7 separate regions of the Homo sapiens genome follow, and all the other regions are linked to region 1. Evidence: promoter capture Hi-C in 16 types of primary human blood cells and fetal thymus (Javierre and others, 2016). All regions are on one chromosome and are shown on one strand. The core of a region is centred on a gene start or on the middle of the fragment in contact, and the rest is flanking DNA. Distances in the headings are between cores, read along the strand shown. Region 1 holds the start of CALB2 (calbindin 2). Region 2 overlaps HYDIN (HYDIN axonemal central pair apparatus protein). Region 3 overlaps HYDIN (HYDIN axonemal central pair apparatus protein). Region 4 overlaps HYDIN (HYDIN axonemal central pair apparatus protein). Region 5 overlaps HYDIN (HYDIN axonemal central pair apparatus protein). Region 6 overlaps HYDIN (HYDIN axonemal central pair apparatus protein). Region 7 overlaps HYDIN (HYDIN axonemal central pair apparatus protein).

Region 1 (4,328 bases), core at 967-3,466:
TCATCATGGAAAAAAACCCTCTTCCAAACCAAGCAGGTGTTCAGGAACCAGAGTGGGAGAATAAACGCTGGCCAGGAACCAGCCCCACCAGTAACTTGCTCCATGACCTCGGAAAAGTCAACCCCTGTGTCTGTTTCCTCATCTGTATAAGGGGAGTCATGGTCTGCCCAGCAGCCTCACACCTTGAGAAGGTGCAATTGTGCTTAAGTACAATGTCTCAGATCAACGTAAGGATCTGCGTGGTTATGGACAGTGCTCTTGCTTGTCCCTCTGAGAATGGGGGAAAGTAGAACTATAGAGTCCTCTGTTTATAGCTGACTCATCTACCAGGAAGCCAGTGGTGTAACCTTGGCTGCTTGGTAACTTTCCTTGAATCATGCAAGTCTGGTGCAGATAAACTGGCAGGAGCCTCCTTAGGGAATGTGCATGTCATCTGGAATACTAAAAGGCTGCACTTCTCTTAGGAGAGCACTTTGTACCAAGGGAATTTTATGGCAGGAGCTGGGGATTGGAAACACAATCCCTCCTTAGCCCCATTTTACAGATTTAACAATCTACCCACTTCCATCAGTAATTCATAGGCAGATCACAGTCCTAACTCAGGTATTCAAATGCCTAGTCCCCTACCCCTCTAGCTTTCTCAGTTGGCTCCAAGGAAACAAAATTTCACCCATTAGCATCCCCAGACATTAACCCCTGCCTCCCCATAGCACTCTGGGCAGAGGATCTCTGCCCAGCCACCTCCACACCCTGCCAAGGCGAGGAAGGGAGGAGGGAAGAATGGAGTGAGGCACACCTGATGCCCCTCTGTTTTCCATCCCCCTTGCTCTCAGACCCCAGGATAAACTCCCTGTCATCCCACACAGATCTGGGACAGGGGCCTGAATGACAGGTGTCAGAGCCCACAAGGCTGAGCCTGGCCCCCTGGGGGGCTGTGCAGTGCAGTGGTTAAGAACTTGTCTTCTGGAGACAGCATCTGTCTTAGCCTTTCCCGTTGGCCTCCCTTTGGGGTCAGCCCCTCCAGGAGCCATTAGCTACCCGAGGGGAGGGTAGCTACAGACACCACAAAATGTCTGAGATGCCAGGATATTTTGGATGCTCATCTTAGCCAGGTCTGTGCGTAGAGAGGGAAATCAGATCACTTATTTTTTCGGAGTAACAGAAACAGAGTCTCTAGTGATATCAAAAGCCTCTAAAGGAGGACCACCCTTTATGCCTGAGTCAGACCACCACAGACACTTGGAATCCCAGTGCTGGGGGCTACCTCCAAAGGTCATTTGGTCTGGCCCTTGCTTTTTGGGTGAGTCAGTGTCAAGACCACACAGAGCAGAGGGTTAGTCACTGAGGCACTTAGGGTGGTGCCTCCCCCTACCCAGAGATGAAGTCACCAAGAGTACCCAGGATTATCACTATGAGGGAACAGGTCTGGGACTGGCACCCCAACGCTGCCCGCCACCACACCCACTGCTGCTGTATTGGGAAACCTACATGCCCACGGCGGCTGGAAAATGGACAAAGGAAGCAGGGGGGTGTTCAGGGCCCCCAATGCCATTTTCCACTCCTGCTCCCAGCCAATCAAGCTGGGGAGGCCACGTTTCCCTTCAGGATCCCCTAATTTATCCCAGCCTCCAGCAGGGTAAGGGGGCTAACCTAGCATTCAACAAAAGGGGAAGAGGAGGAAAGAAATGAGTGGTCTTCTGAGACCTGTGGCTGGAGCAGCTGAAGGCAGGGGAGGTGGGGGAGATGGCAGGGGGAACCTGGAGGCCTTCCCAGCCCAGGCCACCTCTCTGAGAAAGCTCCCACTTGCTCAGAATAAAGGTGCAAATGCGGGTGGGCTCTGGGTCATCTATGTTAGGGAAGAAAGTTACTGACAGTTGTGCCCAGAGCAGCCGGATGTCTCCCAAACCCGGGACCACTACCCCAGCAGGCTCTGCGACCAGACCACCTCCTGAGGGCAAACGTACACCTGCCCGCATTCAGCGCCGCCCCCTGCCCCCTTCACCGCAGGTCCCCTGGGTGCCAATGGGCACAGAAGTTGGGAGCTTTACTGACCGTCTGCGTCAAAGTGCTTCCATATTTCCAGGAACTGGGACGCCGTCAGCTCGGCCAGGTGCAGGTAAGGGGGCTGCTGCTGCGGGCCAGCCATGGCGAGCCGCTCGGAGACCTCAGCCTGCACCGCTCCCGCTCCGCGCCGGCTGGGCTCTGGCACTCGCGCTGGGGTTGTGCGCCACGCTGCCCTTATATACGCTCTGGAGCCTGCGCCTGCGCCCGGCCGCCAGAAGGGGGCGCGCGCGCTCAGGGAATCCGACCGGGGCGCGGCGCGGCGGGGGCGGCGGCGCGAGAGGCTCGGCCCGGACTCCTAGAGGGCCCTTACCTCTGCGCTGAGACCCCTCGGCGCGGGGCCAGGGACACCCGGAGGATTTTCGGTGAAAATGAGGGAGAGGCTGCCCTTGCCTTCCCTCCCGACCGTCTTGAGTACATCCACCACTTATTATTGCTGGCAGTAGCAATAATAATAACAGCAGTAACAACACTAATAGTAATACTAACACAAACTTGACAAATATTTAGCACTCGGGCTTCGGAGTTCACTAGGTCTCTGTCGTGCCTCCTCTCTTCTGATCCTTCCACAGCAGGAAGAGCTGGGACCACTTTTCTGATGAGGTACTTGTGACTTCAGATGATTAAGTGACTGGCCCAGCAAATTAGTGGCAGGGCTACAATTTGAACTCAGCACTCTTTCCACGCCGCACGTGGCTCCTTCATGGGGCTCAGTCTTGCAGAGCAGCCAAGAGTTCTCAAGGCTTTAGTGGGGAGCAGCTGGAATCAGCAGTGCCCCGGGAGGATTCCGATGGAAGTGGTGTGGGGTGGGGGTGGGGGGCTTCCACTGTCTGTTTGGGTCTTCGTATATCCGTCCCCTCGGAGCCTCCCTCCACCCCTGGTACCTGCCTCACGCTGGCCATGCTCTGGGGGGCTTTTAGACATTTGGCCAGGGGGTGGCAGAACTAGATCAACCCGTACCAGGTCTTAACCACGCCCACCTAGGGACATCGTGGGAATGTGCCTGCTCCAGTGGACAGAGAACAACGTCCAACTCTGTCTTGGGGATGTTCTGAGCTGGTCTCAGAGAAAATAGACGCAGCTACTGAGCGCACATCCTGAGGGCAGCAGACAGGACTCCCCAGCAGGGAGCTGGGCCCTCTCCCCATTCTCTCCTGCGGTCTGAGCCCTTAGGGGTCTGTCCTGGCCTTGTGGTGTGGTAAGGTAAGACACATTACCCACAGAGTGACAGCATCATCCCTCCTTTCTCCCCTCTCCTGCTACGGAGTGACTGAGACATGAATTGGCGATCTTTAACATGTGCTAATGAGTGTTAGCTGAACCACCTTCCAAGAGGAGAGTGAAAGGCAAGGAGGTAAGTGAGAATGAAAAGGAGGTCGCTGGGGGAGAGGGGAACCCAGGAGGAGACAGAGAGAGGGTTGTCCCTTGGAGAGAGGGCCAAGCCCAGAGCGAGTCTCAAAGGGGCAATAGAGAATGCAGGTTCCAAAACCACTTGTTCTTTGCCTAGGGTGAATGTGTTTAGAGTTACTTGCAGGAACAGACTGGGGGGAGAAGTCATCAAAAGCTAGCTTTAGAGGTACCCATCCACCTTGCTGAGAGATTCACCAAAGTCCCTAGGGAGGCAGGATGACTCAGTGGTTAAGAGTAGGCACTCAAGAATCAGGCTGCTTGGGTGTGAATCCCAGAATAAGCTGTGTGACCTTGAGCAAATTATATAACCTGTCTCTGCCTCAGTTTTTCTCTTCTGCAAAATGGGCATGTGGGCATACGCCTTTTAGAATTGTTGGCTGGGTGCCGTGGCTCATGCCTGTAATCCTAGCACTTTGGGAGGCCGAGGTGGGCAGATCACGAGGTTAAGAGATTGAGATCATCCTGGCCAACATGGTGAAACCCAGTCTCTACTAAAAAAAAAAAAAAAAAAAAAAAAAAAAAAATTAGCCAGGCGTGGCGGTGCATGCTTGTAATCCCAGCTACTTGGGAGGCTGAGGCAGGAGAATCGCTTGAACCCGGGAGGCGGAAAGGTTGCAGTGAGCCAAGATCGCACCACTGCACCCCAGCCTGGGCGACAGAGCGAGACTCTGTCTCTAATAATAGTAATAATAATAATAATATAATTGTTCTGAGGATTAAATGAGTTAGGGCTCCTGCCGCCCTTCATGGAGCCAGTGATCAGTGGTTGGCTTGGCAAGAAATTTCTCAGTCAGCATCACCTCCCCTGGGGTAGCTAATGAATGGATCCTGGAGGGGCTGACCCCAACGGGAGGCCA
Region 2 (4,328 bases), core at 849-3,348, 480 kb after region 1:
TTATTTAGAAATCATTAAACTAAGGATCATATTTTTCTTCAGAGGCAATTTTCATTTGCTTCTGCCCAACACTTGGGGGCACTAGAAATTCAGGATCACTTTAAGCCAGTGTTAGGGTTTGAGATTTTCTGGATTACCCAGATGACTCAGAGCAGGATTGCCACCCTTGGGAAAGCTGGTTTATATCCAGCTCACCTTTCATCTTTTGAGGTCCCAGCCCAGAAGAAAGCATTGTCACCTTCCACAGGCCTTGAACTTTTGCCCTCTTAGCACCAAAAGACCATAAAAAGTACAGACAACGCCTGTAATCCCAGCAACTTGAGAGGCTGAGGTGGGCAGATCAGGATTTTGAGACCAGCCTGGACAACCTGGTAAAATCCCATCTTTACTAAAAACATACAAAAATTAGCTGGGCATGGTGACTCGCGCCTGTAATCCTAGCTACTCTGGAGGCTGAGGCAGGAGAATCGCCAGAACCCGGGAGACAAAGGTTGCAGTGAGCCAAGATTTCACCACTGCGCTCCGGCCTGGGTGACAGAGTGAGATTCCGTATCAAAATTAAAAAAAAAAAAAATGTGCAGACAAGCCTCCTGTCTACCTTTTCCTGACTGGCAAATGCTCTGGGCGGACAAAAACTGCCCAGAAAGTGAGACTGACCTTGCTGGATTTCTATACTCTCACAGATCCTGGTCTATTTACTCCTCATTCTCTTCGTAGCTCTGTTATGCTTTAAAAAAAATTTTTTTATATATATTTAGTCTAGCAATTGTTGTTGCCTTGAGCTCAGGTTACCTAGTTTACCATTACCCTGCATCGTTTCCATTATTGTGGCTTTATAATATGTTTTAGCATCTAGTTCAGTGAATTCCTATCCACCCATTCCCTGTTTTTGCCATTTTTCTTAACAATTTTCACCTATTAATCTCTCAAATAAGCTTTATAATTATTTTATAACGTTCCTTTAAAAATCCCATCGGGAAGCCTCTGAATCTGGTAGGATTTCTGCTTGCGGAGTATTTAGACTCTCCACCAGGAACATTTAGGATTTCCACCCATTTATTTAGATCTTTTATGTCAATATTCTTACATATAATTCTTCCATATAGTTTCTTATTAAAGTTGTTTCTAAATACATAATTTTTTATCTCAGAAGCTTCCCGTGTGATATCACTATTTCTGCCTTCTCCATGCCTCATATTTTGTATTATTCAATCTTTTTCATGATGGTGCCAGCATTACTGTCTTCTAACAATGCCTGCTGATGTCTCATATCCGAAATCAGATGTATGGCTTTAGTCTTATCTTCCTTATAATGGGCCAGAAACCACCACTTTCTCCAAGTAGGTCAAATGCCCACCTTGTTTTTTCTCTTATCGTGGTAGGATGCTCAACATGACACTATCAGGCAACTAAACTAATGCATAGCACCTAGGAGATACTGGTTTTTAGGAATTGACATCAATGCAGGCCCTTATAGAATTACAAGTATTCATTTGCATTTTATTGGCCTAGCGTATATTTTATAACTGCCTCTGTTAATGACAGAGGTGTTGGCAACCACATTTTGACACTACCTACGTGATCTGGAAAGTTCTGCATACTCCTTGGACCTCCAGTTCCTCACTCAGATAACAAGGGCTGATCTGACTGAATGTTCTTCTGTCCTCTCCAGGTCTAATATTTATTATTTATCTCTCTTAAGAAATTCAAAAAAGTGAATACTAGGCATAATACCTTTTTGGGGTCCTGCCCCAAACACAGCACAGTATCTCACCCCAGACTCAAAGCCCATGAGCAGCCTGTAAGCCTAGCACTCATCCCTGCTTTCCTTCTGCCAGCTGCATGTTGACCTGCAGGATGAGCTAGGAGTCTTCTCCCTGAAAGGGAGGCCCACCACCGCGTATATCTACATCACAGAGGAAAATAAACCACATGTAAAAGGTAAGTGTGGGGAGGGTGCTTCTAGAGGGCAATGGATCTCAGTAGCTGCTTCATTAGGGGACCACTCAAGGCCCAGCCAGAGGGGAATGCCCAGTCTCGTCACCACTGGCCTCTAGCTAAGGCTCGTTCCCATTCTAGGGTTACTTTCCCTTCAACAGGGGTCTTTATAGATACACATTTCTTGAAACTAGTTCTAAATCATATCTTCTCTCTTCTCTTTGCAGCAAAGAAAGCTCACACAGCCTCCTTGGTTGTTTCTCCTGGAGATACAGCTGAATTTGATGTCGTTTTCCACTCCCAGAAGGTTGGGAGGATGAGAGGTATCATCCACTTGTCAGTGATCAACAACCAATATGAGGAGACCTCCATCCACATGGTGGGAGAGGGCTATGAGGATGACATCACCTTGGACAACATCCATGGACTGGTGGCCCCCACCAGCCAGGAAGACATAAGTATCTCTGAGTTCACAGAGATCATCGAGGACAATGATATGGAAGACTTGGTGGCAGGTGGGAGAAACAGCAGTGAAGTGTTGGCAAGTGTTGGCTACTGGGTCATTTGTTTTAAATGAGAGTAAATTTAAATAACAGGTTGGTTACCTCCCTGAGAATTTAGGACTGACTCTCCTCTTCATTACTCTATGCTCTGGCATGCCTGGCTCAGTCATGGCATCCATCCTTCCATTTATTCATGTGTTCACTCGATGAATATGTATTGATCACCAAGTACATGTTCCAGGCATGCTGATCCCTGGAGTTTCAAAATTAACAAGGAAGTCTCTACTCTTAAGGAGCTTATAGTTTGATATTCAAATTCTGGTTCAACTAATAAGCAAATAAATGCCTTGCAGTTTTTCCTGTCTGCATTTATTAGCTGGCTTGTGTTGGCATTGTCTGTTTATTAGAGAGAGTATAGGTTTGGGCACTTCTAGAACATCACTCTGCACAGCCCCACTACTCAATGAGCAGTTTGAGATCCTATGGCATCAGCATCACCTGGGAGCTTGTTAGAAATGGGGGTTTCAGACCCCCCTGCCCTACTGAATCAGAATCCACATTTTAACAAGGCCCCAGGTGACGTGTTTTTATACTAAAGCTTAAGACATGTTGTGCTGCAATCTATCAAGCACTAAAGCTTCATTTAGTTGACATTTTTGGGGATTGGAAAAATTTATCATCAAATTGTTATCATCAGAAGGCATTGGTTAAGCGCCCTAATTATGTGGTTGGTTGCTAAAAAGTGAGTTATAAACAGAGTCCCATAGTTTACCTAGAAGCTTAATTAAAGTCCTGGAATGTACCGTTAGGTGGTCTACACAACATGGGTTGAAATCAACACTCCTCATATACCTGGTGTTTCAGCCCTGTTTGAGGCTACAGGGTGACATCTCTCTTACCAAGGCTCAAGCAGGAGCCAGCAGTGAATCTAAGTTCAGAACTCAGATTTCATGCCCATAATAGGATTGCCAGAGTTAGCAAATCAGAATACAAGACTCCTCAATAAATTGGAATTTTGGTTAAACTATGAATAATTTTTAGTATATGTATATCCCAAACATGGCATGGGACATACTTATCCTAAAAATTATTCATTTCTTATCTGTAATTCAAATTTAACCAGGACTCCTATATTTTATCTGGCAATCCCAATCCTTTATAATATTTTCTCACCAAACAAATGGAGTTGGGGACCTATGTTTTCTCTTGTACAAATGGAGGTGAGGGCTAAGGTGGGTGAATGGATGATGGATGGATGGATGAAGGGATAGAGGGATGGATGGGTAGATGATAGATGAATGGGTGGATGGATACATGCATGCATGCATGGATGAGTAGATGATGGATGGATGGGTGGATGATGATGGGTAGATAGGTGAGTGGGTAGGTGGATGATGGGTGAGTGGGTAGGTAGATGATAGATGAATTAATGGATGGATGGGTGGATGATGGATGGATGGATGGGTGGGTGGATGATGGATGGATATATGGATGGATGGCTGCATGGATGGATGGATGATGGATGGGTGGATGATGGATGGATGAGTGGGTGAGCAGGTGGATGATGGATGGATGGGAGGGTGGATAATGGATGGATGGATGGATGGATGGGTGGGTAGGGAGATGATGGATGGGTGGATAGGTGGATGGTGGATGGGTGGATGATGGATGGATGCGAGGGTGGATGGATGATGGGTGGGTGGGTGGATGATGGCTGGATGGGTGGGTGGATGGATGATGATGGCAGGATGGGGGAGGGTGGATGGTGGATGGATGAATGGATGATGGATGGATGGATGGATAGGTGAGTGATGGATAGGTGGATGATGGATGGGTGGATAATGGATGGATGAGAGGGATGGATGGATAGATGATGGATGGGTAGAT
Region 3 (4,328 bases), core at 1,338-3,837, 470 kb after region 1:
AGCAGAGATTCTCACACTGCTCTCAACTCTGCAGCTTAACAGGGGCCTTTAAGTGGCCCGGATGTACCTGGCCAGTTGGAACCATAGGTGTCTGGGAATGGAGGAAGAGACTTAGGGGAAGAGGCCGGGAGGGGGAGATTCTAGGGGTGAGAAGAGGTCCCAGGGTGGAGGGAGAGACTGGAGATGGGCGACCTGGCCTCAAGCTGTCCTGCCTTCTGCCAGCTCTTATCTGCTTTACAAGGAGACCTTCTTCAGCAGATTTCATGTGAAGAAAGGGCTTTCCTTTTTCATTACATTCTAAGAATCATGATATTGTACAATCCAAATAGTAGCTTGGTAGAATAGAGCTCTGGCTTGTGCTCATCCCCTGAGATAAAAAATGAAACACAGAGGCTGGGTGTGATGGCTCATGCCTGTAATCCCAGCACTGTAGGAGGTGAAGGCAGGCAGATTGCTTGAGCCCAGGAGTTGGAGACCAGCCTGAGCAAAGTGGCAAGACCCCCCTGCCTCTACAAAATACAAAAAAAGTTAGCTAGGCGTGGTGGTCATATCACTTGTAGTCCCATCTACTTGGGAGACTGGAATGGAAGGATCGCTTGAGCCCAGAGAGGTCAAGGCTGCAGTGAGCCGTGATCGTGCCACTGCACTCCAGCCTCAGCAACAGAGCGAGACCCTGTCTCAAAAAAAAAAAAAGAAAAGAAAAGAAAAGAAAAAGTAACACAAAATCAGGGAGGCTCCTCAGCAAGGAAAGGGTGGCACACGGGAGGAGGGAGGGAAACACCCCTCAGACAGGGCCACACAGCCCTTCATGGCAGTGCCCACACTTTTCATTCCATGGAAAGTTCTCCTTCCCCAAGAATTCACAGATGACAAAGAGACTTTTCCCCTGTCAGTTTGGAATTAGTGCTAAGTGGAATCTTGCCTGTTGGTGAGTTTTCTTTTAGATTAAGACAGGGGCATTAGCTGTGCTCTTTGAGGTTGCATGGAATGGAGTCACTCTCAGGTTGGAACAGGTGATAGAGGGTTTGTTGAAAGAATGCGCAGGGAAGCAAGGAAGCACAGGGGTGCAGGTAATTGGGCAGCCAGGGTCTCCTGGAGCATGGCGGTGACATTCAGAGCCCCACAGCAACTCCGGGCATCCCACCTCTGCCTAGGTGGGATACATCTTGAGCCTACGGCAGTCCCTCTGCCGGTCTCATGAGCCAGCTTCTTCCTGTGGTTCTTGCCTCACCTCCAGTAGGCCATGGGCTTCCCTCCCCAGTACCTCTGTTACAGGACCCCTGCCCCCTCCCTGCTGTCTCTCTCCCCAGGTTCTCTGGTTTCTGTGTCACTGTTCGCTCTGCATGTGCTGAAAGCCAGACAGACACAAACAGAGAAAGAGAGAATTAATTTAGATGGTCCTTTTTCAATATCCAATGTCCCTGTTGGACAGAGATCTCCTGCAATGGCCTCTCTTGACCATGGGATAGAGTATGGCTGTCTTTGCCGTAAGCATCAATTCCTAGCCTGGTCAATCCTGGCTAAGGAGAGGCGATCACGATGTACAAAGCACAGTGGACTCCGCCGGACGTAGTGGCTAAACAGGGCTGGAAACACAGCAGGCACTCAACCATCTAGAGTCTCCTCTCTGGGATCTTGAGTTCCCGGGATAATGACCTAGGCTGACTTCTTATTCTTGTCTTTCAGCTTTTCCGTGGACTCTGTAGGGATTTCAACACCTAATATAAATTCCATGATCTCAGTCCAACCCAAAAAGGGTTCACTGACCCCAACAGAAAAACCCACAAATGTCCAAGTTTTCTTCCATGCAAAAAAGGAAGTGAAGATTGAGCACCAGCCTGTTCTGCGCTGTCAGGTAAGAGAGCTCCAAAGGGAGGGGCTGCCTCAATGGCAGGATCGTACGACTCCTGTTGCAAAGAAGGATACATGACCTAATCCATGCTCCAGGGAGAAAAGGGGAGGGCTGGCCTGGGTGGCAACCAGATAGGATACACCGGGGTTCTGTCCTAACTATCAGGCAAAGTCATCAGAATTAGATCCAGTGAGGAAATGTGCCCCCAGGTCTTTGGGGAGCATCAGAGGCAGGGAAGCTGAGTCCCATCATCAAGTGCAAAGGATGAGCAGGGAACTGAAAACATGAGGAAAAGTTGGCTAAGTTGACCCTTGGCTGGTACACAGTAAGCTCTGTTTTAGTGTTCGCAATAATACGAAGACAGTGAAATAAAGAACATGGCTTCATGTCAATGATGAAAATAGGGAATGGGGTAGATAATCATGGGAATTCTGTAGCTACAGCAGTGGCTGACTTGCTCATTCTTCTTCCCGTTTTAGATTATTGAGCCCAATATTTCAGAAGGAGGTGAGATCATTGCCAGCATCCCAATTAAGTTTTCCGCGAATGCAGTATATTCCAAATACAACATCACCCCCTCCTCTGTCATCAACTTTGGAGCTTTGATCTGTGGCACTCGTAAAAGCACCACCTTCACCATAGAAAATCAAGGTGTTACTGACTTCAAGTTCGCCCTTTATAAGCTGACAGGGGAGAGCCCCATTCATCAAAAGAAAGCGTAAGACAAATATTTACTTAACTCATTCCATTCCCTCTTTAATTTATGCTTTATATTTTATAAAGAGCTTTCGTATATCTTACTTAAATTCACCCAATCCCGTTTTGTGGGTGAGATCAGTAAGATTTAGAAATGGCTCATTTAGATTATGCACAAAAGCTGGGCGCAGTGGCTCACACCTGTAATCGCAGCGCTTTGGGAGGCCAAGGCGGGCAGATCACCTGAGATCAGGAGGTCGAGACCAGCCTGGCCAATGTGGTGAAACCCCATCTCTACTAACAATACAAAAATTAGCCAAGTGTGGTGGCACATGCCTGTAATCCCAGCTACTCGGGAGGCTGAGGCAGGAGAATCGCTTGAACCTGAGAGGCGGAGGTTGCAGTGAGCCGAGATCGCGCCACTGCACTCCAGTCTGGGCGACAGAACGAGACTCTGTCTCAAAAAAATAAAAAATAAAAAAATTTTTTTTTAAATACTATACACGAAATCACCAGTAGATCTTGGTGTGAGCCCACATCTTCTGACTCCAGGTTTCATAGATTTCCTGTAGAATATATCATAAATTTTAGTTGAACAAACACAGTCTTCTGCCTGGAATTTTGTCTGTTGTCCTGGTGCTCCTGGCGTGCTGAAGGACTTGTTAGATCATTGTCCTATGTGTCATTCTGTACAACGCCAAGAAATTATTATCATAGGAAGCTAAATCAAAAGAAATCGTAGCAGTGCTTCATGGTGGGGCTGCTCTGGAAGCGTGGAAGAGAGGAAGTGCGGTGATGCCTTCAGCCTACCAGGGACTATTATTGTTATTGCCTGTTACTATTATTGCCTTCTCCCCATGAAGACACCGTCACAAAGCTACCTTAATAGTTGTTCCAACAGCAAAACTCCATGTTCTTCAAAAGGAGGCTGTCAATCAATTCACCCAAAACAATTTGTCTTTTGAGTGCTTTTGGCTTCTACTGGGCTGCCATACTCTTTTTCGGGCAAATTAAGGATGGTTTTTACCGATTCCTGAGGCACTTCTGATTTAATTTTGACTTTCTAGTTAATTCTTTTAAATAAGATGTATGGCTTTACATTGTAGTTGTTTTATATTTCTGTAGCTATTCTTTTCTGTTTTGACAAAATTTGAACATTTTTTAAAATGTAGAGTTGAATTGTGTAAAGTCTCTTTCTTCCTAGTTTAATTTCAACTGAATTTTTTTACAATTTATAACAATGTAATGTCTATAATGATTATGACTTAATTCTGTTTTGCTTTACATTGGTTTTTATTTATTTGTTATTTTAGCATGCACAAGTTCATACAAAACACACGAAAGGGGGTTGAACTTCACGTGTTCTGGTCATTAAGCAAGTGAATGCTTGAATATATAAAATTCTCAAAAGTTTAAGATGCATTTCAGATACATTTGAATATTTTAGGTGAACTGGTCTCTAGGCAAACTAATTATTGGATAAACTAGTTTCAAGGCAAGTGAACAACTACCAAGACCTATATTTGAACTACTGCTTATACTAAACCTTAAAAACATCACAACTATAAATGTGAAGATACAGAAAAGAGCTTAATTTATTTGCCATTTCATTTTTTAAAATCAGATTAAGTAAAACATTTGACATCCACAAGTAATTTTCTGCACACTGCTTTCCAGTGAACTCAAGTAGGCATTTAAAACTTACTATCTTCTTGCAGTAATTTTCGGTGTCCCTATAAATCATATTTAATAAGTATAATTACCGCCTAGTTTCCTTACA
Region 4 (4,328 bases), core at 698-3,197, 430 kb after region 1:
GCTTTGCCTCGTCACCCCTCATTTCTGCCTCCCCGTTTCCTACCCTGATTCCTGTCTCCACCACTCCCTCGAATCCAAGGCTCCAGCCTCTCCATTTCCAGATCTAATGGGCATGGGTTAGGCCTTGACTTGCTTGACGTCCTCCTCCATGAGCTTCACACTGTGGATCGTACCCTCCTTGGATCGCTCTTCTTTCCTAGCATCCTGGTCCGCCCTTTCTGGCTTTCCTCCTTCTCCCTGGTTTCTTTCTGGACCCGCCTCCATCCATCCTTAGTCACTCTGCAGGTTTCCAGCGTCAGCCTTTGTGTCTTCCTGCTTGGTCTAAGGCTGACCCCCATCCCATGCGTGACTTCAGTGCTACCTGATCATACATAATGGGTTGGAGGAAGAGAGGAGGGGAGTCAGGAAAAGCTTGCAAATTCCAAAACGAAGTGAAGGGCATTCCAGGCAGAGGGACAGCCCAAAAGAGGGAGGAGAGAAAGGCAGAAGCCACATGAAAAAGAGCTAAACCAATGTTTTAACAACTAATAGCTACTGTGTGCTGAATTCCTGCTATGTGACACTCCCTGCTGGGAACTGTGAATAGATCCCATCACCATCTACCTCCAGTCTCCACAACACCCGCTGAGGGAGATATGATCATCACCATCATTTTGGAGATGAGGAAGCTGGAATGCAGCACAGTTAAGTGATGCACCCAAGGTCACATGGCCAGAAGGCGGTGGGGGCAGGCCCAATTTGTCCAACTCCAAAGCAGGCACTCCTTTTCCTGGTTCTTGCACTGCCTCCCAAGCCCTTAGTCCATCCATGGCTCCTGACACTTCTTCAGATTGTCCCTCGGACACTGGTAACTCAACACGGCCCACACCAAGCTCATCATCTATGCTGCCTTTCTTCCAGACCTCTTCCTGGCCCTATATTCCTCCCCAACCCTTCTTTCAGCTCCCAGGCCCAAATCCCAGAGTCACCCTGACCCTGTCACTTCTGCACCTTCACCCCATGACCAACCAGGAGCCCTGTGAGGGAGTCCCCCTCCTAAATTGTTCTCAAGCCCGTCCCAGACTAGGGCTCTCCTTTCTTCCCCATCCCCAGCTGTCTCACCCGTCTTTGCTGTGGTACTGTGTAGCTACATGGTAATTCCATCATCACACCCCCTGGTTTTCTGGTTCTGGAAACAGGATGGGGAAGAGGACACAGTTTGCAGAAACATAAAGTGTATTTTTCTGTTTTTCTTGCTTGTTGCCAAATTAGTTTAATATCCATGGAAGGAAATCATAGTGGAGAGACCAAAAGTGTCTCACTTAGAGCGGAATCTTTGTACATATCCATGCTTACTTCCTTAGGATACATTTCTAAACATGTCATTCCAGGGTTGAAAGGTGTGTATTTTACCCCTGACCTCACAGGCTATAGGTTTTAGCATTCCTTTTAATCCTTGCTGACTAGATTCGATGGGTGAACAACTGAATATTTTTATTGCTTGGATTTGCATTTCTTGAATTGTTAATGAGGTGAACCTTTAAAAAAAAACATGCTGGTTGGCCACTGAACTCCTCTTCAGGATTTTATTTAAACATCCCAGCAAGGCCTTCCCTGGCCACTCTATTTAAAATTGAATAAGACAAAAGCAAAAACAAAACAAACAAACGAAAACCAACAAAAAAAAAAACCCACTTCTTAGCCCCTTCCCTGTCTTCTTAGCACTCATCACCATCTCACATACCATAGATTTTTATGTGATTTTGTCTGCCTACCTGCCCCTGCAAAATATAAGCCTCATGAAGGCTGAGGCTTTTGTCTGTTTTGATCACTTAATGAGTCTCCCACCTGGCAGAAAGGTGCTCAAAAATATTTGTTTTATGTGTGGGTATGTTTTTGTTTATTTTTTATTTCTTTATTTTTTGAGACAGAATCTTGCTCTGTCGTCTAAGCAGGAATGCAGTGGCTCGATCTCGGCTCACTGCAACCTCCGCTTCCCATGTTCAAGTGATTCTCCTGCCTCAGCGTCCCGGGTAGCTGGGATTACAGGCGCCCGCCACCACACTCGGCTAATTTTTATATTTTTAGTAGAGACAGGCTTTCACCATGTTGGCTAGGCTGGTCTCGAACTCCTGACCTCAGGTGATCCACCCACCTCAGCCTCCCAAAGTGCTGGGATTACAGGTGTGAGCCACTGCGCCTGGCCAATCACTTTTTTTTTTATTTTGTGGATTGTTTTTACCTTTTTTTTTTTTTTTTTTTTTTTTTTGATACAAGTCTCGCTCTGTCGCCCAGGCTACAGTGCAGTGGTGGGATCTCGGCCGCAACCTCCACCTCCTGGGTTCAAGCGCTTCTCCTGTCTCAGCTTCCCAAGTAGCTGGGATTATAGGCACCCACCACCATGCCTGGCTAATTTTAGTATTTTTTGTAGAGACAGGATTTCACCATATTGGCCAGGCTGGTCTTGAACTCCTGACCTCAAGTGATCCATCCACCTTGGCCTCCCAAAGTGCTGGGATTACAGGCATGAGCCACCACACCCAGCCTGTTTTTGCCTTTCTAATCGGAAGATTTCCTTCCATCTAATAGCCTACTGCTCTTTAACTGTTTATCCTATAAAATGAAATCTGCTGGTGATTCTGATTTTCTCTATATCAGCTTTTCAAATCTGAATATGCACGCAAATCACCTAGGGATCCTGTTAATATGCAGAGAGGTTCCGATTCCGTAGGTCTGGGCTGGGGCATGAGACTATATTTCTAACAAGTCCCAGGTCACATTCATGCTGCTGGCTCTTGGGTCACACTCTGAGTAGCAAGGCTGTAAGCAGTTGCGTAGCAGCCAACACTAACGTTAGCAAAAGCACAGTCTCAAGTGGATATATTGTCAGGAATCTTTAAACTGCAAGAAATAGAAGACTCAATTCAGGCCATCTGTGGTGGTGTGCACCTGTAGTCCCAGCCACTCAGGAGGCTGAAACAGGAGGATTGCATGAGCTCAGGAATTTGAATCCAGCCTGGACAACACAGCAAGACCCTGTATTAAAAAAAAAAAAAAAAAAAAAAAAACAGAAGAAAGAGAGACAGAAAACCCAATTCAAAAAACGTTAAAAAAAATTTATTTGCTCACATGTATGAAAATTCATGGCTTGTTCCTTCCTGAATTCTTATTTCAGATACTGTATTTTTCACTTCTAAAATTTCCACTTGGTTCTTTTTAAATTTTTCAGTTTATCTGCTTGGATTTCCTTCTGCCTTACTGATCATAGTTATAATAGCTGCATATAGTTCTTGTCTGACAGTTCCTCCATCTGAGTCATCTCAGGGTTGGCATAGTTGACTGTCTTTTCCTTTGAGAATTTGTCACAGTTTCCTGACTCTTCATATGACAAGTAATTTTGTATCACATCCTGAAATTTTTTAATGTTATGTTGCAGACTCTGTATTGTATTATAATTCTCCAAAGAATGTTGATATTTTAGGTTTAACAGACAATTAAGCTTGGTTGGATCAAGTTTTGGTCTTTTGCATCTGCAGTGGTCAGTGACTAAGATGTCAGTTCCATTCTTTAGACCTTAATTACAAATTGCTTCCAGTTTGCCCCCCGCACACATAGTTCAAGAGTCAGCCAGCCAGAGATTTAGGCTGCTTATACAGAAAATGCGGGGTTCCTCTTCTTTGGCTCTCTCTCCTTTCTGGGGTTTCCCTTTCACTCTCTGGAGGCTCTGAATGCTCCAGGACTTCTTTCTGTGGCTCCTCTAGAATGAAGATTGGTGGGTCTTTCTTTTTTTTTTCTTTTGAGACAGAGTCTCACTCAGTCGCCTAGGCTGGAGTGCAGTGGCGCAATCTTGGCTCACTGCAACCTCCGCCTCCCAGGTTCAAGCCATTCTCCTGCCTCAGCCTCCCAAGTAGCTGGGACTGCAGACGTGTGCCACCATGCCCGGCTAATTTTTGTATTTTTAGTAGAGACGGGGTTTCGCCATGTTGGCCAAGATGGTGTGGAACTCCTGACCTCAGGTGACCCTCCCACCTCGGCCTCTGAAAGTGCTGGGATTACAGGCGTGAGCCACTGTGCCCAGCCCGGTTGGTGGTTTTTTCTATTGTGGTGTGGCCACCAGCCACTACACTGCCATGACTATCTTCAGTGTAAAGCCATGAAAAAGGAGGAAGAGGACTTACTTTATGCAACTCTCTTATTCCGAGTTTCAACAGCCCCTTTAAAAACTGCCTAATTTGTTTTTAGTCTCTAGAGCTCTCAGGGAGTTATGTTTCTATTTCATTCAGTCTGTAGCTGTTATGTATGGGACAATCAGTTTGCTGGTTGTTCATTCCCACGCATGAGAACCATAA
Region 5 (4,328 bases), core at 901-3,400, 400 kb after region 1:
TGTTATGTATATTTTACCAAAATAAAAACAGTGTCATACAAGTGTATTGAATTAATGGAAAGTTGTTCATGATATATCATTTTACATGAGAAAGGGTGCCATACTCACGGTGTGTAGTTAGTATTAGTGCCCCGTTGCTACTATAACAAGTGACCACAGACTTCATGGCTTCACATAATGCAAATTTATACTCCCATAGGTCTGGAGGACAGAAGTCTAAAATGGGTGAGCATGGCTGTGTTCCTTCTTGGAGGATCTGGGGGACAATCCGTTTCCTTGTCTCTTCTAGCTTCTAGAAATGTTGCCTGCAACCCTTGGTTCCTGGCCCCTTCTTCCTCCTTCCCAGCCATCAGCATAGCATCTCCCAGTCTCTCCTGCTACTTCCATGGTTGATTGACCTGCTCTGACTCCAACCCTCCTGCTCTCCTCTCATGGGGACCCATTGTGCCCGGTTGGATAATCCAGGCTAACCCCCCATATCAAGATCTGTAAATTAATCACATCTGCAAAGTCTCTTTTACCCTAAAAGGTAACATATTTGCAGGTGGAAATCTTTGGAGGAGCCATTATTCAGCCTACCACATCACCTATTTCTTTTTTTATAAGAAATACAGTTACATGTGTACTTAGCGACCATAGGCTAACGGTACTATCCCTGAATGAGTGGATGATGGATTTTTTTTCTTTTCTCTTGTCTGTTATATCTGAATTGTCTGCTTTTTTTTTTTTTTGTAATGAAAGTACCTTGAAATGAGAAAAGAAATCAACACAAGTTATTCTTTAAAATAAAAAGTTTTCCTATTAGAATCAGAGACAGGAGGAACTACAAAGTATTTTAAAGATCATCTGATAGAACCTGTTTCTTAAACAGACCCTGTGCAGTGGCTGACACCTGTAATCCCAGCACTTTGGGAGGCCAAGGCAGGTGGATCATTTGAAGTTAGGAGTTCGAGACCAGCCTGGCCAACATGGTGAAACCCCATCTCTACTAAAAATACAAAAAATTAACCAGATATGGTGGTGGGTGCCTGTAATCCCAGCTACTTGGGAGGCTGAGGCAGGAGAATCACTTGAAACCAGGAGGCAGAGGTTACGGTGAGCTGAGATCTCGCCACTGCACTCCAGCCTGGGTGACAGAGTGAGACTCCATCTCAAAAAAAAAGAAAAAAAGAATCTGTTTTTTAAACTGAGGGAAAACCCAGCGAGGATGCAGATTGCCACAGCATGCACGCATCAGTGGCAGGGTTAGAATCAGACCCACAGCCCTGACTCCAGGCTGAGGTCTTCCTTCTCTTTGCTGCTAACACCTCCAGCCACATGGGAAGGAGGCAGAGCACTCAGAGAGATCACTTTGCAGGGACCTCTGCTCTTGAGACCTTTTCTCTCTGGGACACTGAGCAAATGAGCACCGTGAAATTCAACCCCCTGGTCTTTTTAATAGGAAAGTCAGCCAATGCCGTTAGCGTGGCCAAGTACTACAACGCAGCCTGCCTGAGCATCGACTCCATTGTGCTGGAAGCTGTGGCCAACAGCAACAACATCCCAGGGATCCGGGCCCGTGAGCTCTGCATCAGGGCTGCCATAGAGCAGTCCGTGAAGGAAGGAGAGGAGGCTGGTAAGAGCCCATTCTCTTGGGTTTTTGTGGTCAAGTCACCAACACCCCCACTGACAACACCCATCTTCTCTGTGCCCCACTGAGCTCTCCTCCCACAGCCTGGTTGAAGTCTGCCCTACAGCATGCTGCCAACTTCATAGCCCAGAGGAGAATTCTCTTCACGAAGCATTCCTGGGTCTCCTGCCCTGCCCAATGCCAGCGTGCTCTTGCCACTGTGGGGACCAGGACAATGAATAAGACACAGCCCACACCTTTGGAAGTCTGACACCTGGTGGGGGAAGCAGACATGCGGTCACTCAGAGCAGAGGAAAATAATTTTGCAACAGAAATACCAGCTTCTTTGAAAGAGCGACTTTGGGATGAATGGGTTCCAACAAGGGTGATGTGGGAAGTTTTCAAGGAAATGGGTTTGAAGAAGCAAGAGAATATTAGTAGGCAAAGATGGGGACAAGGACATTCCAGACCAAAAAAGCAGGGAAACTGGTCATAAATTAGGGGTGGGAAGGCAGGTTGAGGCCAATCATTGTTCACCTTGAATGCCAAGATTAGGAATTTGAGTTTTATGTTCAAGGAAAAGAGCTATTGGGACAGTTTCACACTATGGAAAAATGATCAGAAAATCACAATAGGAAGGTAGCCCTTGACTATCATGTAAAGGAAGCGATAGTGAAGCTGCAGACAAATGGGCCTGGGCCGGCCAACCCGACAGCCAGCTGCATGGTGGAGAATTGAAGGAGTAAGAGGGATTCAAGATGGCCACGCCCAGCTTCCTAGCCACAGAATCCAGGAGAGAGCGATGTCATGTACCTAGATAGGGAACACAGGAGGAAGAAAAAGTTTGCTGGAGAAGAAAATAAATTGGGTTGGGTTTGGGGGAGGGGGGTTGTTTTCTTTCTTTCTTTCTTTTTTTTTTTTTTTTTTTGAGACAAGGTATCTCTCTGTCACCCAAGCTGGAGTACAGTGGCACCATCATAGCTCACTGCAGCCTCCTGGGCTCAAGCGATCCTCCCACATTCGCCTCCAGAGTAGCTGGGATTACAGACATGCACCACCATGCCTGGCTAATTTTTAGGGTCTCGCTATGTTGTCCAGGCTGGTCTCAAACTCCTGGCCTCAAGCAATCCTCCCAAAGTGCTGGGATTACAAGATTGAGCCACTGTGCCTAGCCTGAATTGAGTTTTGGAATCGCATAGTGGGGAGGTCTGGTGTGGCCTTCCTACAAAAAGTTGAGAATTCTGGCTCCATCAGGTTATTTGAGGACCTTCAGGGCAGGCGAGCAGCTGCTTGATGGGAAAATATACTAAACACCAAGCAGAGCGCCTGCTCAGAGGGGAAGCATTCCTATGTCAGTGCCCATGGCATGACGTCATCCCAAGAATGCTTCCAGCCTGCTAGTTGATAAAACTGGCTGGGACTTTCAGGGTTGTCCCCTCCCCTCAATACCTCTGCGTGGGACACTTAGGGAAATGGAAGATTCTTTGCTGGGAAGATAAGAGAAATAGCTCTTTAGTGAGAACCTCTGGCTATGCCCTAATGCTGGTTCTCTTAAATTTTTTATTTCCTTTTCTGTGAAATAGTCTACATTTCATAGTGATCTGTGGAGCCATGTTTATGTCCTGTGCCTAAGGGTGAATTTGAGTTCCTGGTCTGAGAAAATAACATCAAGCTAGAGACACAGCTGGGAGAGTCTTTCTCCATGAAACCACTAGGGTAGGTGAAGCAGCCAGAAAAGCCCAGAATGAGCCAGGAGGAATGTTTGCTGGACGAGGCAGGTTAGGACCATGGGGAACACCTACATTTCAGGAGGGGTCATGGGGAAGCCGGGAAGTAGAGACAGCAGAGCCAGGGCCACAGGGACTGTCAGGGAAGTCAAGGAAAGGGCCCCAGAGCCTTAGGAAAGGGAGAAGCGAGGAGGAGTTTCACGTCCCTCAGAGCCCTGCTGGACAGGGAGCCTTCCTGCTGGCCTAATCTCACAGCCCACTTGTCTAGCTAACCTAATACTGATCTACCTCCTTTATTGTCTGCCCCGACCCCATGTAAGCTCTGGAGGCAGGGGCTTGTGTTAATTTTCCCCACTGTAGTCCCAGCACCTGGAAGAATGCCTGGCATAGTTGACACATAATAAAGATTCATAAAGGATTCATTGAATCAAGAAATGAACAGAATTAGAGACTGCCAGAAGCCCAAATAGAATGAGCCCTGAGTAGAAGGTGGCTGAATTTCCCAGTTGGGAGGTCCCTGGGGTCTTTGGATAGAGCCTTTGCAATGGAGGGGTTAGGCCCTCACATCTCTCCTGCATCTGTTGTCACTGTGGAGTTGGTAGGCTGGAATGAAGTGGTGGCAGTGAACCCGAACCTGCCTGTGCCATACAGTAGCCACTGGCCCTAGGGGCTGCTGAGCACGTGAACCCAGCTGGTCCAAACAGAGGTGTGCGGTGAATGTACAGCACCCATGGGAACCCTGAAGATGTGATATAAAGAAAAGACTTGGAAATAACACAGTAGCAATTTTTATACATTACATGTTAAAATGATCACATTTTGTGTATATTGGGTTAAAATATGTCCCTAAAATTAATTTTTACCTTTTTAATGTGGCAACTAGAAATGTTTAAATTACATACATATGTGGTTCACATTATATGTCTATTGGACAGAACGGACTTCAGAGTGCCATCCCCACTGTCATTTTTTGTGATTCTAAGGTGACTTTT
Region 6 (4,328 bases), core at 450-2,949, 390 kb after region 1:
CTAATTCTCTAATATTTATAAACCAGCTGGAGAAACACATGCCGAAGTACTTAAGACAGAAACTACGCGCTGAATTAAAGCCAAAGACACGGATCTTCGAAATCCAGCCCATTTCTGGAGTCTTGGATCCTGGTGAGAAGTCCAACGTGCAAGTGAAATTCATGCCAAAAGAAGAGGTGAGCTTTAAAGAAATATGGCTTCATTTAGATTCTCTGGACCTCTTTGAGCTTTACTCAAAGTCCATGCTTGTTTGGGTCTCAAGGGAAGCTTCGAGTGACCTGTGCCTTGCTTTTCTGAATATGGCATCTCAAGCACTTCTGGTTCACATAGGAGCTGTGTGGCCTGGTGGTCTGGAATCATTGGACTAACACATCAGTTTTTATCAGAAGGCCTGGGTTAGTAGCCTTCTGCCTCTGCACACTTACATGCTGTGTGTCTTTGAGGAAATTACTTAGCCTCATTCAGTCTCAGTTCACTCATAGATAAAAGAAAAAATAGTCATGTTGCATATCAGAAGTCCTTATTGAAATTCTGAAACCCAGTAAGATCCAAAACTGGGGGTGGGGGGTTTGAGATTTCATAAGCTTCGCACTAAAACTCATTTGGCAGAAAAATCTCATCTGAACTGACATGACACCATTTAACCTTTATTTGTACAACTTAGTTTTCAGAGTCAAACATTGCCAACAACTGTTAATGTGTTTGATTACAGGGGACCTGCCCCAGACCCTGCTGAGGGTATTAGGTAACATAGGGTATATGCACTGTGTTTACTATTTGAAAAATCTGAATTTGAAAGTATCTGGCCCCTGGGTTTCAGATAACTTATTGTCAACCTGTAATGACTACCTCCTAAGGTCATTTTGAAGATTAAATGCACAGTATTGAATAAAGTACACAGTGTGCTGCTCTATGTAAGTAAATCTCTCAATAACTATTAACTATTATCATCAGTAGTCGTGAAAAGTACGTCCCAGTAGATGGCCTCCCGGAGCCTCATAAATGTTTCTTTTGTGAACATAATCAACTCAAAGCTACTTCTGACCAGGAACATAATAAAATTAATAAAATCCTCGAACCAGAGAATCTCAAGAGGTTGCACTGTAAAGACTTTTATTCAAAGCCTAAGGCACTTGGGAAATATATTTTTCTCTATTCTGTTATTTTAAAAGAAAAATTGATTTGTGTTTTATAGAAGAGCTATGGTTAACTCCCATTTTCCTTGTAATCGCTTTGAGGAAATGCTTAAGCACCTTCAGTGAGAAAGAGAAAAAGCAAATGACTTCCTATCTCATTCTAAAATAAAACCCATGTTTTTATCATTATCAAAATCTTCCCAGTCCATTTAAAAGAAAATTAGTAATATGTTTGTCATTCTTAAAGAGTCTTAAAATTTTCAAAGGGTTTACTCAAGATTGTGGATTTTTTTTCCATTACTTAATGAGGGAAATATAGTAAAAAAAAAAAATAGATTTGTTCAAGCAGTTTCATGAATGTTGAGTTGGAATTGGTCAAAGTTAGTAAAATGTTTCCACCAATTAAGAGAGAAATTTATTAGCTGTATACAAGGAATTGGTTAGCCCTGCAACCCATACGATCCATATATCTGCATCATCATCAACATCAGCAGCACCAAGAAATCAGTGACATCCACACCAACAATTCTTAGGCATGATAACATGTTCAAGAAAATGAATGAAATGTTTTAGAAAGATTTCCATAAGGAGCAATTAAAATACAGAAGTTTGAATCATAAGGTACTAAGCCCATAACTATAGAGAAACCCTTCTTAGCCAGTAATTTATCTTTTTGTGTCCAGAAATAGATATTTCTGTGTGTATGTCTGTATACATTCCATCCATTTGCTTTTTCCCCTTCAAGCTAAGATAGGAGGTCTTCAGATTGTGATTTGCGTAATTTCCTCTCAAACCAAGCTACAAGTCCAGCTATACCAGAATAACCTAGGCATCTGGTTAAAAATGCTGAATCCCAGCCTTACTCTGCCCCTACAGAGTCAGGATTTCTAGGGATGGAATCTGAGGATCTGCATGTTTAATAGGTTCCCCAGTGAAATCAGACTAGGAACTATGGGATGCAATGTAGATTTGGGTACCATTTTGAGAAAACATGTGAGTAGTTATGATATCACTATTAACCAGTATCTGGTTGTAATTGTATCTGATGAACTGAATGCCCCAGCTCTGGCATTCTGCCAAACTCTGGGAAAATACACAAAGTACACACTTCAGAATCATCACTCCTCAGGAGCAAGGGAGCTGGGGTCTTTTTACCGTAAATCCCCAGAGTCATTGCTTAATAACTAATTCCAGATGGTATCATTTCCCTGGCATTTTTGCCCTGCCCTCCCCTGCCCATGGACAGCAGGTTCCATGAAATGAGAACCTTCAGGCCCAGAGATGCAGACAGTGGCAGCTGGAAGTCTGAGCACACTGGAAGATTTGAGGGATGTGAAAGTGATACTCAGAGGGCTTGCTACAAACGATGAAGCACTTGGTACAAGTGCTAGAATGCTAGATACCCAGAATTTATTTGATATCTAGCACTTGGTACAATGCTTGGCATGCTAAATACCCAGTACTTATGTTAATTCGGTAATAAAAATTACTCTTATGCAATTTTATAATAAGTTTTCTCCCTTAATCTAAATAGATAAGTTTTTTCCCCTCAGCAGTGTTTTGTTTTACATGACATGTAATGGAAATAAACTCAGATGCTTGTTTTGTTTTTATGTTTTCCAGAAATTCTACAGCCAAACCCTGGTGTTTCAGATTGCCCAGAGTGCTCAAAAGCTTACCCTCCTGGCACGTGGGCAAGGTCTAGAGCCACGCCTGGAATTTAGTCCTTCAGTCCTGGATCTGGGGCCACTGCTACTTTGTGCACCTGGAGACGAGGCCGAGGTGATAGTGAAGAATCCCTGCAACTTCCCCATTGAGTTTTATTCCTTAGAATTTGATCAGCAGTATCTCATAGAAGAAAAGGTGAGCAGAGGTCAAACCAAACTGTTTTTCTACACGTTCCCATCTTTTTCCCCTTGAATTCTTCCTTGTCAATTTAGTGATTACTTCCCTATAGCCTTTTCTGACCTACTTCCCTTGACCTGAGTAAAATCCTAGACATTTTAAGCAACTAATTGAAAAGCTAATGCATGTTCATGGTTAAAATTCCAACAGTAAAGAACCGTATATAGCAACTTGTCAATATCATTGTATTTGAAGTTGAGTTACTTGTAGACAGCATGTAATTGGGTCATTTTAAAAAATATGCTATCAGTCTCTAACTTTAGTTGATATATTTAGACTTTAGTTGATATATTTAGTTTACATTTAGTGTAGTTATTGCTATTTCAGGACTTAAGTCTGCCATTGCATGTTTTATTGTTTTTTGGAATTTTTTGCTTTCAGGAATTTTTTGTTTACTTTTTCCTACTTTCCTATCAGTTGCTTCAACATTATTTAAAATTCCATTTTTATTTACCCAGAGTGTTTTTTGGGTGTATCTCTTTGTATAGCTCCTTTAGTTATTGCTGTAGGTATTACATTATCTATACATAACATTATAATCATTGACTGTCAATGATTAAATGTCAATCACTGGTATTGACATTTTAGCAGTTCTAGTGTATTTAGAAAACTTTCCTCCATTTAACTCCCTTCAGCCTTCCGATTTTTAATATAACTGTCTTAAATATTTTTCTTATATTAGCTAGCACTATAATTATTGTTTCAACTGTCAAACATACATTTGAAGACCCCAGAGGAAAGAGAAAATGTATTATATTTGTCTCTCTTTTTACTCTTTCTGTTCTTTCTTCTTTTCTGATACGCCAAGATTTCTTCTTTTATTATTAACTTTCTGTTTAGAGAGCTACCTTTAGCTCTGTTGTTAGGGTATGCCTGCTGATAGAAATTTCTTAGTTTTCCTTCATCTGAGAATGCCTTGACTTCCCCTCTCATCCTTGAAGGATTTGCTCACTGGATATAGAATTCTGAGCTGACAGTTCTTTCATCCCTTGAAATATATGCCACTTTCTTCTGGCCTCCATGGTCTAATGAGAAATCCAATGTCATTTGAATTATTTTTTTTCCTCTGTAGGGAAGATTTCATCTCTCTCTCACTGCTTTCAGGAATTTTTCTGTGTCTTAGTTTACAGAAGTTTGACTATAATGTGTCTTGGCATAAATTTCTTTGGTTTATTGATTTTGGGATTTGCTGAGTTTCTTGAATCTGTTGATCTTTATCTTCTTTCCAACTTGGAAATTTTTCAGGCATTATTCAAGTACCTTTTTCAGCCTCATGCTCTTTCTACT
Region 7 (4,328 bases), core at 1,365-3,864, 370 kb after region 1:
GGACAAATCTCAAAAACATCATGCCAAACAGAGGAAGTCAGACACAAATTTGTACATGTTTCCAATTTCATTTCTATGAAAGTGTGGGCAAATTAATCTCTAGTGATATTAAGCAGATGAGTGTTTGCACAAAGCAACTTTTTAGGATGATGGAAACATTCTGTTTATTAATGTGGTGATAGTTCCACAGATGTGTATACAACTCATCAAACTGTGTGCTTACAAATCACGAAGATGGTAGTGGGATCCCTGAAATTTAGGAAATGATACTCTAGGATCCCTGAAATTTAGGAAATGATACTCTAGGACATGGTTAGAGTGGACAGTGTCCTAAAAGAAGTGCAGATGAAATGCTCTGAAGCTTCCAAGGGAGGGAGAATTTCTTCCGGTGGGAAGATAGGCCAGTGGTGGGAGCTTCACATAATAGATGACATTTGTGCTGAGCCTCTGAGTACAGATGGGGCCAGAATGAGTATATAAGTGAAATAGATTGAAATTAACATCAAGGGCTTGAGATAGGTTGGGGAGGGTCAGAGAGGGGTCCAGAAGAAGCCATGCACCAAGGGGAAACAGGAAGAATGGGGGTGACCCCACAACCTTGGCCTTTGTGACATCCAAAGGCCTTTTTAATCAGTGGAACCTGGACATATGGGCTTCAGCACCAGCCGGTACAGTTGCTTTTCCCCTGGGTTCCTCTGCTCAGAGAACTTGAGTGGCAGCACAGCTCATTGGTGGGACCAGGACTAGGGTGTGGCAAGCAAGGCACTGAGGTCACATTGTAGGAGGCAAGGTCATGTAAGAAACCCGAGCCTGCACTTCCAGGCCCCTAACAGAGAGTGCTTCCCAGGCCTCAGCTGAGTCTTAGCCCTGCTTTCTGGTGAACTGGGAGCAGGATCCCCAGTGGCTCATTCATTCATGACCATGCCGACTACTTATTCCAGGCCAGGCACTGGATTAGACACCATATTGGATACCAGTCCTCAGCGAGTCCACATCTAACAGGGATGGTAAAAATAAGTGTGAAAGGGGAAGCCCAGGGGGCTATGGACACTCAGAGGAAAGAAGTTGGGCCTAGACTGGTAGTCAGAAAACTTTTTAAGAGCAAGTGAAATTTTAGCTGAGATTTGAAGAAGGCAAGTTCAAGGGAGGGTGTAGGGTGGTCCCTACTAGATCTGCCTGGTCTAGGATTTGGAGTTTGGCCTTAGAAACTGAGAGCCCACTGAACACTGATTTGCAAAAACTGATGTCTCCTGTCTCCCCCTATTCCCTGTCCCATGCTTTGGTAGGTTTGTGACATTGCCGAAGAAGCCCTACAGTGCCCCAGTGTCCCAGATGGAGTCCATCCCAGCAACCTCAGAGGCTGCCAGCCCACCAGCAATCCTAGTTACAGTAGAGTCCCCCGAGATGGATTTAAATGATTTTGTTAAGTAAGTGCAAAGCCAACATAGATTATTTGTAGTAGCTTTTCTTTTCTTTACACGGACTTACATTCTCAATACTCATCCCTCATTGGTTCATTCATCCAGTACCCAGTCAACAGTTTAATAAATGTCTTCTATGTGTAGGCCCCAGACTAGACATCTGGGATAGGGAGAGGGTACCATCATGAGTCCTGGGGGACTGAGCCCTTCCTATCATATTGTCCTCTCTGTATGTCCAAGGTCTACAGTCAGGATTGGGTCCAGGGTAGCAAGCAGGAAAGGATATATCAATTCACCAAACATTATGTCCTCACAATAAAATGCTCCAATAAATAGGGAAACAACATTGAGCACATAGAACACCCACATTGTCTGAAGAATTGCTGGAGCTTCCTAGGACTTTTTGTAAGTTGAACATGGGCTTGGTGGGCCAGTAAAAAAGGGTTGAGCCCCGTGAAAAATTGACCAGTTCAGTGGCCTAGACCACATGTTTGGGGGCATAGGGCAACAGGGCCCTGACCAGCTGACCTCTTGAGAAAGGTGTCCCTTGATTGAGAATCCCCCTTACGTTTGGGGGTGTGGTAGAGGGAGAAGAGGAAGACAGGGCTGTTATGCACCTGAGACTGTGTGGCGATGACAGCCCAATGAGTGAATCTCTGCATTTCATTAAACTTCCTAGGACTGTCCTTGTGGATGAAGATGCCAGGCCTGAAGAAAAAGAACTAAGAAAAACGAAAGCTTCCAGTGTGATCTCAGATGTACGGTGTCCTTTCCATGGGGAGGGTAGGCAGGTCAAGGGTCCTTCCCATAAAACAAAGGCAGAATCAGGAGCAGAGTGGCCAGTACAATGCTTGGGTTTAATTGGGACAAAGCCGTACAGCTTTACCCACATTTCTTCCCAGCCAAACACCCCAGAGCCAACACTCAGTGAGAGCCTACACTTGTGATGTTCCTACACCCTAGATAGAGGATACTAAAGGAAAAATATTTTCTTAATAATTCTGTAGCAAAAACAAAGGGGGCTTAAAAATTAATACCCTTAAATTCTCCTTCTAGAATGACGGCCTAAGTAAACTATTGGAGATACAAAGATGTGCATACAAAGATGCTTGTTACAACATTTTAGAAACAGCAAAAAATGAAAAACAAAATGAAAGATAAATTGCTGTATGTCCATGATGTGATGCAATCTTTTAAAATAGTGTTGAGTGGGATTTTCCTACAGTGTGGGTAGGAGTATGAATTGGCATAACCTCTATAACATACAACTTTGCAAGTAGATCAAAATTTAAAATGCATTGTCCCCCTTCTAGAAATTATCCTCCAGATACACCTCTGCACTTGCATAAAGCATGTAACCATCCTTGTACACTGCAGCTTTGTTTGTAAAAGCAAGAAATATTGGAAACAACTTAATTCCACCAATAGGAGACCGTCTGAATAAACTAAATTACATCTGCACAAGGCAATACTATGAAATTCTTTTTTAAAAATGAGAAAGTTCTCTACATACTAATTTGGCACAATCTTTGATATATTAAGAAAAAATACCCAGTGCAAAACAAAGTACACTGTGTGCTACCATTTGTATAAAGAAAAAAGTCTATGAAAGCAACCAACACTTAACTGAGCACTGACCTAAGCTTTTTTTTTTTTTTTTTTTTTTTTTTTTTTTTTTTTTGAGGCAGAGTCTCACTCTGTTGCCCAGGCCAGAGTGAAGTGGTACCATCTTGACCCACTGCAACCTCCACCTCCTGGGTTCAAGCAATTCTCGTGCTTCAGCCTCCCAAATAGCTGGGATTACAGGCACTTGCCATCATGCCCGGCTAATTTTTGTATTTCAGTAGAGACAGGGTTTCACCATGTTGCCCGGGGTGGTCTTGAACATCTGAGCTCAGGCAATCCACCTGCCTCAGCCTCCCAAAGTCCTGGGATTACAGCCATGAGACATCGCCCCCAGCTAAGCAATTTTTTACATTAACTCTTTTACTTTTCCCAACACCTCTGTGAGGTGGATACCACTATCTTTCCCCATTTTACCAATGCAGGGACACGTCCATCAAGCAGTGGAGCTGGAAGACTCGACCATCTTGCTTGCTCTTAGCTACTGTGTTATCTCTCAAACAGTTACATAGATATCTTTGCTTGTGCGTGGAATATCTCTGGAATTTAATCTTCATGAGGGCAGGAATTTTTTTTCTGTTTTGTTCATCGTCATATCCTCAGGATATAGAACTGGTTCTTAGTAAGTCCCCAGTAAATATCAGCTGAATTAAGAGGAATAACTAAATTCAACATATAGGAAACTGGACAGTGGGTACCTCAGGAGGGGAGAACCGGAGAACTGTAGGGATAGAAGTCTTTTTTTATCTTTTTACCATATATCCTTTTGAATATTTTAAATTTGTATCATGTACAATCAACTTTCTAAAATACTTTAAGTGATGTTTGTGAAGAATATTCAGTCATATGGGAAGATGGCACTCATATTAGGTCAACTGAAAAATCAGAATACAAATATGTATGCACACATAATACACTATATATACACACATATATATAATAATATTTATCTACAGTATAACCTGAGATGGACTTTTATTTCTTTCCTTGGAGCTTTCTATATTTTAAAAATTTTTTAGAATGAGTATGTGTGAGTATATAAAATATTTGTCTTTTAAATATTAATTCTTCTTTTTCTGTTTTCAAAGATGCGTGTCATAGAAAACTCAAGAATAGGCCAGAAACAGTGGTTCACGCCTGTAACCCCAGTACTTTGGGAGCCAAGGCAGGAGGATGGCTTGAGGCCACGAGTTCAAGACCAGCCTGGGCAACATAACGAGACTCCAGGGTGTGGTGGTGCACGCCTGCAGTCCTGGCTACTTTAGGGAGGCTGAGGTGGGAAGG

Evidence for each region. The method cuts DNA at HindIII sites, captures the fragments that hold promoters and counts their contacts. A CHiCAGO score of 5 or more calls a contact.
Region 2: a contact is called between a fragment that was not itself captured here and the fragment with the promoter of CALB2 in region 1, in 4 of 17 cell types (endothelial precursors, erythroblasts, megakaryocytes and 1 more). The highest score is 9.4, in endothelial precursors.
Region 3: a fragment that was not itself captured here is called in contact with the fragment with the promoter of CALB2 in region 1 in 1 of 17 cell types (endothelial precursors); the score reaches 5.9 in endothelial precursors.
Region 4: a fragment that was not itself captured here is called in contact with the fragment with the promoter of CALB2 in region 1 in 5 of 17 cell types (endothelial precursors, erythroblasts, M1 macrophages and 2 more); the score reaches 11.3 in endothelial precursors.
Region 5: a contact is called between a fragment that was not itself captured here and the fragment with the promoter of CALB2 in region 1, in 2 of 17 cell types (endothelial precursors and M1 macrophages). The highest score is 9.7, in endothelial precursors.
Region 6: a fragment that was not itself captured here is called in contact with the fragment with the promoter of CALB2 in region 1 in 1 of 17 cell types (endothelial precursors); the score reaches 7.0 in endothelial precursors.
Region 7: a contact is called between a fragment that was not itself captured here and the fragment with the promoter of CALB2 in region 1, in 6 of 17 cell types (endothelial precursors, M0 macrophages, M2 macrophages and 3 more). The highest score is 15.1, in endothelial precursors.

Annotation. Positions count from the first base shown.
Region 1 is chr16:71,356,611-71,360,938 of GRCh38, reverse strand. It overlaps CALB2 (calbindin 2), which reads right to left and starts at 2,216. Exons shown (of 11, transcript NM_001740.5): 1 at 2,053-2,216. The coding sequence starts at 2,146. RefSeq lists enhancers at 199-493, 1,520-2,485 and a silencer at 2,188-2,417. The HindIII fragment of the contact is 14,542 bases long and covers 1-4,328 here.
Region 2 is chr16:70,872,430-70,876,757 of GRCh38, reverse strand. HYDIN (HYDIN axonemal central pair apparatus protein) reads left to right here. Exons shown (of 86, transcript NM_001270974.2): 63 at 1,839-1,941; 64 at 2,166-2,453. Among named protein-coding and RNA genes, the nearest start is that of VAC14, 73 kb to the right of the region's middle. The HindIII fragment of the contact is 1,886 bases long and covers 1,156-3,041 here.
Region 3 is chr16:70,889,888-70,894,215 of GRCh38, reverse strand. HYDIN (HYDIN axonemal central pair apparatus protein) reads left to right here. Exons shown (of 86, transcript NM_001270974.2): 56 at 1,687-1,855; 57 at 2,332-2,570. Among named protein-coding and RNA genes, the nearest start is that of VAC14, 91 kb to the right of the region's middle. The HindIII fragment of the contact is 8,070 bases long and covers 1-4,328 here.
Region 4 is chr16:70,929,930-70,934,257 of GRCh38, reverse strand. The region is part of intron 45 of HYDIN (HYDIN axonemal central pair apparatus protein); the gene reads left to right. Among named protein-coding and RNA genes, the nearest start is that of VAC14, 130 kb to the right of the region's middle. The HindIII fragment of the contact is 3,067 bases long and covers 414-3,480 here.
Region 5 is chr16:70,952,662-70,956,989 of GRCh38, reverse strand. It overlaps HYDIN (HYDIN axonemal central pair apparatus protein), which reads left to right. Exons shown (of 86, transcript NM_001270974.2): 40 at 1,442-1,615. Among named protein-coding and RNA genes, the nearest start is that of VAC14, 150 kb to the right of the region's middle. The HindIII fragment of the contact is 9,942 bases long and covers 1-4,328 here.
Region 6 is chr16:70,969,191-70,973,518 of GRCh38, reverse strand. HYDIN (HYDIN axonemal central pair apparatus protein) reads left to right here. Exons shown (of 86, transcript NM_001270974.2): 35 at 27-176; 36 at 2,760-2,999. Among named protein-coding and RNA genes, the nearest start is that of VAC14, 170 kb to the right of the region's middle. The HindIII fragment of the contact is 2,226 bases long and covers 587-2,812 here.
Region 7 is chr16:70,989,169-70,993,496 of GRCh38, reverse strand. It overlaps HYDIN (HYDIN axonemal central pair apparatus protein), which reads left to right. Exons shown (of 86, transcript NM_001270974.2): 24 at 1,287-1,427; 25 at 2,101-2,179. Among named protein-coding and RNA genes, the nearest start is that of VAC14, 190 kb to the right of the region's middle. The HindIII fragment of the contact is 905 bases long and covers 2,162-3,066 here.